2 separate regions of the Homo sapiens genome follow, and region 1 is linked to region 2. The links are contacts of gene promoters, found by promoter capture Hi-C in blood cells and fetal thymus (Javierre and others, 2016). All regions are on one chromosome and are shown on one strand. Each heading gives the region's core, a stretch centred on a gene start or on the middle of the fragment in contact. The rest is flanking DNA. Distances are from core to core; before and after follow the strand shown.

The links. Contacts are between HindIII fragments. The CHiCAGO score rates a contact against its expected background, and 5 or more counts as called.
Region 1: a contact is called between a fragment that was not itself captured here and the fragment with the promoter of WDR88 in region 2, in 1 of 17 cell types (neutrophils). The highest score is 5.6, in neutrophils.

The regions. Positions count from the first base shown.
Region 1 is chr19:33,356,367-33,361,538 of GRCh38, reverse strand. It overlaps the pseudogene AKR1B1P7. Among named protein-coding and RNA genes, the nearest start is that of CEBPG, 15 kb to the left of the region's middle. The HindIII fragment of the contact is 1,110 bases long and covers 1,528-2,637 here.
Region 2 is chr19:33,129,417-33,135,216 of GRCh38, reverse strand. WDR88 (WD repeat domain 88) reads right to left here and starts at 3,103. Exons shown (of 11, transcript NM_173479.4): 1 at 2,772-3,103. The coding sequence starts at 3,047. GPATCH1 (G-patch domain containing 1) reads right to left here. Exons shown (of 20, transcript NM_018025.3): 20 at 4,675-5,087. The coding sequence ends at 5,057. RefSeq lists enhancers at 210-259, 3,097-3,266 and a silencer at 340-459. The HindIII fragment of the contact is 21,697 bases long and covers 1-5,800 here.

The DNA.
Region 1 (5,172 bases), core at 833-3,332, 230 kb before region 2:
TACATAGCACTGGTTAGCATGGCAGAGAACAGGAGATAAGTCTTCCAAGGCACACAAGACAGTATGAAACAATTCCAGGGAGCGCAGCAGCCATGGCCAGCCACCTTGTGCTCAACAATGGCACCAAGATGCCCATCCTGGGGCTGGGCACCTGGAAGTCCCCTCCAGGCCGGGTGACTGAGGCCGTGAATGTGGCCATCAATGTCGGGTACTGCCACATTGACTGTGCCCACGTGTACTAGCATGAGAATGAGGTGGGGGTGGCCATTCAGGAGAAGCTCAGGGAGCAGGTGGTAAAGCGTGAGGAGCTCTTCATCGTTAGTAAGCTGTGGTGCACATACCATGGGAAGGGCCTGGTGAAGGGAGCCTGCCAGAAGACCCTCAGCAGCCTGAAGCTGGACTACCTGGACCTCTACCTTATTCATTGGCCGACTGGCTTTAAGCCTGGGAGGGAATTTTTCCATTGAATGAGTTGGGTAATGTGGTTCCCAGTGACACCAACATTCTGGACACATGGGCAGCCATGGAAGAGCTGGTGGATGAATGGCTGATGAAAGCTATTGGCATCTCCAACTTCAACCACCTCCAAGTGGAGAGGCTCTTAAACAAACCTGGCTTAAAGTATAAGCCTGTGGTTAACCAGATTGAGTGCCACCCTTACCTCACTCAGGAGAAGTTAATCCAGTACTGCCAGTCCAAAGGCATCGTGGTGACCGCCTATAGCCCCGTTGGCACTCCCAGCAGGCCCTGGGTCAACCCCGAGGACCCTTCCCTCCTGAGGGATCCCAGGATCAAGGCGATTGCAGCCAAGCACAATAAAACTACAGCCCAGGTCCTGATCCGGTTCCCCATGCAGAGGAATTTGGGTGTGATCCCCAAGTCTGTGACACCAGAACTCATTGCTGACAACTTTAAGGTTTTTGACTTTGAACTGAACAGCCAGGATATGACCGCCTTACTCAGCTACAACAGGAATTGGAGAGTCTGTGCCTTGGTGAGCTGTGCCTCCCACAAGGATTACCCCTTCCATGAAGAGTTTTGAAGCTGTGGATGCCTGCTCATCCCTAAGTGACCTATACCTGTGTTTCCTGTCTCATTTTTTTCCTTGCAAATGTAGCATGGCCTGTGTCACTCAGCAGTGGGACAGCAACCTGTAGAGTGGCCAGCAAGGGCATGTCTAGCTTGATGTTGGATCTGAAGAGCCCTGTCAATAGAGTAGAAGTCTCTTCCAGTTTGCTTTGCCCTCCTTTTTGCCCCACTGGGGAAAGTACAACCTGAATACCCTTTTCTGACCAAAGAGAAGCAACATCTACCAGGTCAAAATAGTGCCACTAACAGTTGAGTTTTGGCTGCTTGGAACTGTAATCCCTTCAGCAAGACTTCTCTTTGCCTCAAATAAAAAGTGTTTTTGTGGAGAAAAAAAAAAGGACTGATACAGTGAAATATATGTTAAAATATAAAACATTTGAACAAAAAGAGCTTCTTATTTCAAAAAGTGTGAACAACTTTATGATAGTAACAAAAGCTTCTATTTTAAAAAGCCCTTTGTATTTATAGAAAGCATATATTTGCATGTATTCTTTGTAATAGTATATTTGAATGTTGTGGAATCAGAAACTTGCAAAAAATCCAAAATTCTAAATACTATAGAAAATCATCATAAAAAGTCACAGACAGGTAAAAATATGATGTTCACGGATGTTCACAGGTGAACAGATAAAATATAGTATATACACACAATGGAATACTATGCAGCCTTAAAAAGGAAGGAAATCCCATCACTTGCCACAACCTGGATAAACGTTGAATAAAATAAGCCAGGCATAAAAGGACAAATACCAAATGATTTCAGTATAGGAGGTATTAACACAGTCAAATTCGTAGAGGCAGCAGAATGGGGGTTACCAGGGCCTGGGAGCAGGAGAGAGATGGGGAATCATTTAGTGGGTGCAGAGTTTCAGTTCCGCAAGATGAAAACGTTCTGGAGTTCTGCTTCACAACAATGTAAATACACTTAACACTACTGAGCTGTATACTTAAAAATGGCTAAGATGGTACATTTTATGATATGTGTTTTTACCGCAATAAGATGAACGAATGAGTGAATAGCTTTAGTTAAAACAAAAGGTCACAGGTGATGCTGAGTTCTGTGGCTAATAGAGGAGCTATTCGTTCATTTCGGATAGCCATAATCCATCTTCTGTGCGATAGGCACTTGGCTAAATGTTGGAGTTAAATAATAATTAAGAAATGACCCCGTTTGTCAGAGTGTCTTCCATCTAGTTGGAGAGAGAGAGAAGTAAACAGTGTAAGGAATGTTCCACGTAGTGGGAATAAGCGCTGGGTGCCGGGAGAATACAAAGTAGGGGTGTTTCATGTGGTCTTGGGGTGGGGGAAGGAGTGGTAGGGTGGTCACTCGCGTCTTCTTGCTGGAGTACTGAAGGTGAGTAGGAGCTAGCCAGGCAAACGTGCGGAATGAAAGACCAGGTGATCGCATAGTGAGGAAGCCAGGGGCAGGGAAAGGCTTGGTGTGGCCAGGATTTAGGATTGGAAAGGGCTCATGGGATTGAGAAGACTGGAGGCGGAGGCCTTGTCAAGGAGTCTGGATCTTGAGATCAATAAGAAGTCATGAAAGCTTTTAAGGAGGGGAATCATATATCCAAATTTGCATCTTAAAAGGATTATTCTGGCTTCTATGGTGAGAAACAGTTTAGAGGAGAGCAAGACTGGAGACAGGAATATTAGTAAAGATTTAACAGTAAGGAAGTGACCAGCGGCCCTTGCAGTAGGCTGAGAAATGAATGAGAGAAGAAACAATGAGTTAGACAACTTTTTCTAGAAGTGTAGCTTTGAACGAGAGGAGATAGCAAGATGGCTGCAGGAGAATCTGGAGCCTAAAGATGTGTGCGTGAACATGTGTGTGTTCGAGTGGGAGGGACGGGCATGTTTAAACACAGACAGGGAGGACAGAGCCGAGCTGTATCCTAAGGGTATGGGAGGAAACCAGATCTCACTCAATAGAGCTTACTTTAGCTTAGGAGGAAGAGAGAGGGCAGGACTCTACTCTTATTTTAATAATAGGGAAAGAAACAGATGGATCTAAGTGTAAGTTTTTAGGTTTGCCATTAGAAAGTTAAGGGGTTTCTATATCATGGGTTTTGCTCTGTAAAATAGAAGGAAAGTTCATCCTGGAGGAGGAAATGGAGAGATGGTGATTTACAGAGAGAGTTAAGTGTGAAATGAGAGCTAAGAAGAATAGTAGAAAGAATGAGCTGACCCTGGGCCAGTCATGGTGGCTTATACCTGTAATCCCAGGACTTCGACAGGCCGAGGCCAGCAGATCACTTGAGGTCAGGAGTTCGAGACCAGCCTGGCCAACTTGGTGAAACCCTGTCTCTACTAAAAATACAAAATTTATCCCAGTGTGGTGGCAGGCACCTGTAATCCCAGCTACTCGGGAGGCTGAGGCAGGAGAACCATTTGAACCCAGGAGGCGGAGTTTGCAGTGAGCAGAGATCATGCCACTGCACTCCAGCCTGGGTGAAAAAGTGAGACTCCATCTAAAAAAAAAAAAAAAGAGCTGACCACGAAAAAGTGAGACTTCAGGGCAGCATGGGGCTGGAGATAGAATTATGTCCAGTGTATTTGTGTGGTTGTTTCTAGGAACACTACCATCAAAGATATTTCTTGGAATCTGACTTAGGAGCTTTGCCTGGCCTAGGCCAGTGCATCTGGATTTGAAAGGCTTGGGGAAAAAAACTATGAAGAGACACTGTTCTAGCACAACTCTAAATATAGTAGTAAGTTATATTTATTAAAAGAATGTGATATTGGCCCAAGAGTTGGCAAATAAACCAGTGGAACAGAACAGACAGCCCCAAAGCACAGACAGTTACATGTGGGAATGTACAGGATAAAAATTTGGCCCTCTAAGTTACTGGGGGAAGAAAGGCTTAGTCAATAAATGGTAAAGTGACAATTTGCTGTTGTTAGACACCTACCATGCATTGTGCATGAAAATAAGTTCTGAATGAAAATTAAGATCTAAGTATTTAAAAAGCCCTTTTTGTATCATTAGAGGGAAATATTTTTATAAACTTGGGTTAGAGAAAGTTCTAGTAATGATCTCATGAGACCTAGGATCCAAAAAAGAACAAGCAACATATTTGACCACCTAAAATTAAAAAGTAGGCCGGGCACGGTGGCTCCTGCCTGTAATCCCAGCACTTTGGGAGGCCAAGGCAGGCAGATCACTTGAGCCCAGGAGTTCAAGAACAGCCTGGCCAAAATAGTAAAACCCTGTCTATACAAAAAAATACAAAAAGTAGCCAGGGATAGTGGCGTGTGCCTGTAGTCCCCACTACTCAGAAGGCTGGGGTGGGAGGATAACCTGACCCTGGGGAGGTCGAGGCTGTAGTGAGCGGTAATCCCACCAATGAATTCCAGCCTGAGTGACAGAGTGAGACCCAGTCTCAAAAAAATAAAATAAAAATAATAAATAAATAAACTCTGTGTGACCAAAAGAAAAAAGAGTTTTTTTTCTTTGTTATTACACTCTACAGCTATTAAGAAAAAAGTAGAGGTTTAAGTTAAAGGGTTAAAGAATAAACTACCAAATGGGAGAAAACATTTGTAACATGTATAACACGTACGGGGTTACTATTAATATATGAGCTTCTATACATCAAGTCTACCACTCTGCATTTGTCTCCTTAATTATAAATTAAGTGGCCATATATGTGTGGATTTATTTCTAGACTCTCTGTTTTGTTACAATGGTCTGTCTACACTAGTGCTAATATCACAGTCTTTTATGATAGCATAATAATATGCTATGGTAAACATAATAATAAGGTTTGACATCTGGTAGTATAAATCCTCCAAATTCATTTTTCAAAATAAAAAGGGAAAAAATTTGTGATAATGTGTTTTCTCAAATGCAATGGGTAGAAACTCAGATATTTGTTATGCCATTAATATTTAACTCCTATTTTATGAATGTTAATTTATACCTGCTCAATATTTAATAATACCATAATAGAAAACTATACACCTACTAACATCAACAAAATTTTTTAAATGCAAGTTAGGAACCTGAAGAAAAAAATGTACAAAACACATTTTTAGTGGGATACCTTAATATACCTCTCATTCTTTGACAGGCCAGGGAGA
Region 2 (5,800 bases), core at 1,854-4,353:
AGGATGGGTATTGGGGAACTGGGGAGTACAGTACTCTGAATACCCTAGAAACCACTACAGCTTCTATGGTTAAATTATATGGTACGTGAATTATATCTCAGTAAAACTGGGGGGAAAAAAAGAGGACAGAGCAGGGAAGCCTGAAGATGTCACCCCCCCCACCCACCCACCCCAGCTCGCGCATGGCGACACGTCCCAGGTTGAGCTGCGGAAGTGTGGGGGTGGGGGAAATGTTGGAGGCAAGACCAGGGGTGTGGCCTGGAAGGCAGTGTCAGGGTGCTGGGCTGAGTTGGCAGGAGGACAGGGGTGAGGGGATGCGACGGTTCAGGGCGGCGGTGGCCTTCCGGTTGCAGGTGATGCGGGGCGGGGGGGGGGGTGTCGGGGACGTGCAGGTGGAGATGCAGGGGATGAGATGATACCCCGCCTCTAGGGGGCTCGGGGACACGAGGACACTGGAACGCGGGCTCCGTTGCCAGGGAGCGTGGAGAGCTGGGACCGGGCTTTTCTCCGGGGGAGTTCGCTAACCCCGTCGGGCCAGGCCGGGGCCGCGCGTGCAGGGTTGGCTCCCTACCCCAGGAGCGGCCCCAGTCCCCGGGACATGACCTGCGCGGCCCTCCCGCACCGCCCCCGCCTCTGGCGACCCCAGCCCCTGCCGCCCCTGCAGGGTTTGGGTTATCTCTCTCATTAGGAAAACCCAACTATCATTAAAAATTGAAATTAAATTGGCTGGGTGCAGTGGCTCACGCATGCAATTCCAGTGCTTTGGGAGGCCCAGGAGTGAGGATTGCTTGAGGCCAGGAGTTTAAGACCAGCCTGGGCAACATGGCGAGACTCCCCCTCTCTACAAAAAAAATCAAAATTAAAATTAATAATTTAAAAAATATATAATTTAATTTAAAAAATAGGAAAACAAAAAACCTAGAACTCCATCATGGAAAAACATTAGCAAGAGGGGGGAACCATTCCGCTACCCCCACCACAGGCTTTTCTGGGGCTCTCGTTTCAGGTTTTTTTCTGCACACAGTCCCTTGGGATCCACTAGGTAAAGGGGTCCCAGGGGCTGCAGAGAGAAGTCCCCAACACATGAGTACATTTCAGAGGTGCTGACAAAGCTCATGCAGAGGACAGAGCAAAAACAAAACGGTTCTTCTATGCGTAGCGTTCATTCACATATTCCACAAATAAACCTCAAGAGCCTCCTCCCCCATGGGGCCTGGACCTGATGCTGCAGCTCAGCAGCCACCTAGGAGCAAAGTCCCTAACCTCGAGGGGCCAGTTGCTGGCAGCCAGAGGACACCTTGAGGACGGAACGGGGATGTCAGACCATGGCATGAGGCACGGAGGAGACAGTGGCCCTGGCTACTTTAGACGGGCGGTCAGGGAGGGCCTCCCCAAGAGCGCAATACCGTGGGGGCAGGGAACCGCCAAGATCCCTGAGGCCAGACCTGCTTGTAGGTCAGCAAGACAGGGGGATGGGGGAGGAGAACATGGAGAGGTGCCAGATTTGAAATGGCCTGGAAGGCCACAGGCAGATCGCCAGACTTCATCTTAAACATGCTGGGAAGCCAGGCAGAGGTTTCGAGGAAATTATTAAAAACACACTCTGACATCTGCATGTGAGTGCAATAAATCAAGGCCAAGCATGAAACGCTACTTATTGAGAATGTTCTTTATTGGGTTTTTGTTTTGTTTTGTTTTTGAGATGGAGTGAGATGATCTCAGCTCACTGCAACCTCTGCCTCCCGGGTTCAAATGATCTTGCTGCCTCAGCCTCCTGAGTAGCTGGGATTACAGGCACGCACCACCATGCCTGGCTAATTTTTGCATTTTTAGTAGAGAAAGGGTTTCACCATGTTAGCCAGGCTGGTCTCGAACCCTTGACCTCAAGTGATCTGCTCATCTCGGCTTCCCAAAGTGCTGGGATTACAGACATGAGCCACTGCACCCAGCCAGTTTTTCTTTCTTTCTCCTTCTTTCTTTCTTTTTCTTTTTCTTTCTTTCTTTCTCTCTCTCTCTCTATATTTATTTATTTATTTATTTATTTATTTATTTATTTATTCTGGAGACAGTCTCGCTCTGTTGCCCAGGCTGGAGTGCAGTGGCACAATCATAGCTCACTGCAGCCTTAAACTCCTGGGTTCAAGGGATCCTCTTGCCTCAGCCTTTCAAGTGGCTGGGACCACAGGTGCGCCCCATCACACTGGGCTAAGTTTATTTCTTGTAGAGACGACCTCTCACTATGTTGCCCAGGCTGGTCTCAAACTCCTGGGCTCAAGTGATCCTCCCACCTGGGCCTCCCAAAGGGCTGGGATTACAGGTGTGAGCCACCTTGCCTGGCCCAATTCATTGTTGTTATTATTATTCTGAGTTTCCCGTTTCTTCTGACGCTAACTGTATCTCCTGGACGGGGAGAGCTGAGCCACCGACCCTTGGGCTGCAATTAGGAGCATCACTGTGGGTGGGCCTACCTACGGAGACTCCAAGGTCTAGATGGGGTCACATGGTGGGGCAGAGCCTCCTCCCAGCGAAGAGTCCTGGTTCCCCAGCAGGTGGCAGTGCGGGGAGCCCCCGCCGGCATCCCCAGCACGCCCTGCTCAGGTGGGTCTGACCTTTGCCCACAGATGTACCACAGATGGGGAAATGGGCCTAGGGCCTCGCTGGGGGTCCTGGTGAAGCCAGGTGGGTTTTCCATGGGTCCCCCGACAGCTCGAGCGCCTTCCTCCCGTGTGGGGAACAGGCCAGTGCCCCCTCACCCCAGCGGCGGTTCTGACCTTGGAGAGAGGGTCCTGGTCGCCCCAGATCAATTTCTCCGGCACCTGGTGCTTCTCAGGCAACAGATGCGGTGGTGGTTCCCTGTCCAAGGCCAGGGGGTCGAGGGTGGCCAGCAGGTGCGTGTGCGGGATCGACAGCTTGAAGCGGCCTAAGGCCCTCGCCATGGTCCCCCAGGACAGCTTGCCGGGACAATACTCGCTGGCGGGGGCGGAGGGTGGCGGCAACTTGCATTCCCTGTCATGGGCTGTCGGGGAGCACCGCGGCGGGGAGGCCATCTCGAAGCCCGGTCCGCCGGTGGCCGCCGACAAGCCTGGATGGGAACGGTGGCGCCGCGCGCCCGCGCCCGCGCCCGCACCAAGCCCTTCGGAGGCGCGCGCTACGCTGGGCCCGCGACTTCGCTGCCTCCTCGCCCGCTGGGTGAAAACTAGTGCCACCCCGCGCAGCACAGGTTACCTATAGAAAAATGGGCTTTGCAGCCGGGCGCGGTGGCTCACGCCTGTAATCCCGGCACTTTGGGAGGCCGAGGCGGGCGGATTACCTGAGGTCAGGAGTTGGAGACCAGCCTGGCCAACAGGTTTAGTGAAACCCCATCTTTACTTAAAAAAAATAATAACAAAAATTAGCCAGGCATGGGGGCGTGCGCCTGTAGTTCCAGCTACATGGGAGGCTGAGGCAGGGGAATGGCTTGAACCCAGGAGGTGGAGGTTGCAAAAAAAAGAAAAATGGGCTTTGCATTCTGGGAACCAGGCCGAGCCAGCAAAACCAGCACCCCAGCCTCCAGCCCTCCGCTGTGGTTTCCCTGGCTCCTGTCACAGGGCAATTTCTTCATGTCCTCTGCCTGGGTACAGCTCCTGGCCAACCCACTTCATGACAAAACAGAAAAGGTCAGTAAGTTATGGGGTAGCCCCTGCATGAAATAAGATGCAGTTATTAGGGGTGGGTTTACAACATTTATAATAGATGAGGGAAATATCTGTCACAACCCCAACAACAGTGACAGGGAATAAAATGCTACCACCAGTCAGATAACAGCCCCATAGCTAGAAAAGGACAGGGTGGAATTATTCAAAATATTGAAGAAGGGTGTCATCTTTGGATGATAAAACTAAAAGTGATTTTCTTCCTTCTTTTTTTTTTTTTTTTTTTTTGGTGGAGACAAGAGTCTGTCACCCAGGCTGGATTGCAGTAGCGCAATTTCGGCTCACTGCAACCTCCACCTCCAGGGTTCAAAGGATTCTCGTGCCTCAGCCTCCCACACAGCTGGGATTACAGGTGTATGCTCACCAGACCTGGCTAATTTTTTTGTATTTTTAGTAGAGACAAGGTTTCGCCATGTTGGCCAGGCTGTTTTTGAACTCCTGGCCTCAAGTGATCCGCTGGCCTCGGCCTCCCAAAGTGCTGGGATTACAAGCATGGGCCACCGCACCCGGCCTCTTCCTTCTTTCTGCTTTTAAAATTGTTGTGATCTATGATGCTACTTTCATAATGTAAAATACAAATGCTCAATACTTTATTTTTTGTGGAGACAGGGGTCTCTATGTGGCCCAGGCTGGTCTGGAATTCCTGGGCTCAAGCAATCCTCCCGCCTCGGCCTCCCAAAGCTCTGGGATTACAGGCATTAGCCATCACACCTGGTCTGCACTTTATTTTTCAAAAAGGTCTCCTTGGTACACATGAGGTGGCCTCAGAGCAGGGAGCTGCAGCCGTGTAACCCAGGCTGTGGGTGCACATTCTCCTGCCTGGTTTCCCTGCCTGTCTCAGACACTTTAGTGACATCTACCCTGAGAGGCTGAGGCCCCCTGCCAGGCCCTGGCTCTGCCCTCCCATGGGGCTTCCTGGGCACCAACAGTAACCCAGCCACCCAGAGAGGGAAGAGCTTCACTCCCAAAAAACGGCAGGAGGGGCCGCAACCGCCCCTTCTCACACGCTTGTCCTTCAGTGAGTCCAGGCTGTCTTCATCACAAAACCAGAGAGAAGCCTTCACTTTTAACTTCTTTTTTAACGTCCCAGGAAATTTTTTAAAAATCAAGAAGAAAATAGAAAAATTCCACTTTAATTAAACTGTTCAGTCTGGATTTTTTTCCCCCGATACTAACTGAAATTAAAAATAGAAATCAATTTCTGCGACCTTTCAAGGCAGTCTTTGAAATGTCAAGGTTTTAAAAATTATTTTACAGCAGGAATTTACATATAAATACACTCTGTACAATGCGTTAACTGAACAATCACTGGGCTTCCATCATGGAGGAGAAATGATTCTAGGACGAGCCAGGGCAGCATTCAATTACTGCCTTCTTAGTGGAAGACTTTTCAGCCTGGAAAAGAAAACAGAAAAGAGAGAAATGGAAAGTTAGCTAAAGTGAAAAACCAAACAGCTCCGTGGAGGCTGAGAATGCCAGGCCTCCCCATATCACAGCAGCATGTCTGCACCTACAAAATGCACTCACAATAACCCACAATGAAGTACTGCCTAATCTGTGCTTTTTTTTTTTTTTCCCCCGAGATGGAGTCTCACTTTTGTCGCCCAGGCTGGAGCGCAGTGGTGCGATCTCAGCTCACTGCAACCTCCGCCTCCCAGGTTTAAGCAAGTCTCCTGCCTCAGCCTCCAGAGTAGCTGGGATTACAGGCACATGCCACCATACCCAGCTAATTTTTGTATTTTTAGTACAGATGGGGTTTCACCATGTTGGCCAGGCTTGTTTCGAACTCCTGACTGTGATCTGCCCGCCTCGGCCTCCCAAAGTGCTGGGATTACAGGCATGAGCCACCGTACCCGGCCAATCTGTGTTCTTAAAATGCTTCTTCTATTACCCTGAAAACACACAGAGACTCACTCACCCACACCTCGTATTAAGACCACTTATAAAAGCAACTTTTTTCCCTAGTCTTATTTAGCCTTGAGAATACAAGCAATTTTTAATCTCAGTTTCACTCACCTACCGCATCCGTTGCATGACCCTTGGGAAGGAACTAAAATACATTCACTCCAGGGCCCAAAGCATCCAAGTTGTCTTTTTTTTTTTTTTAA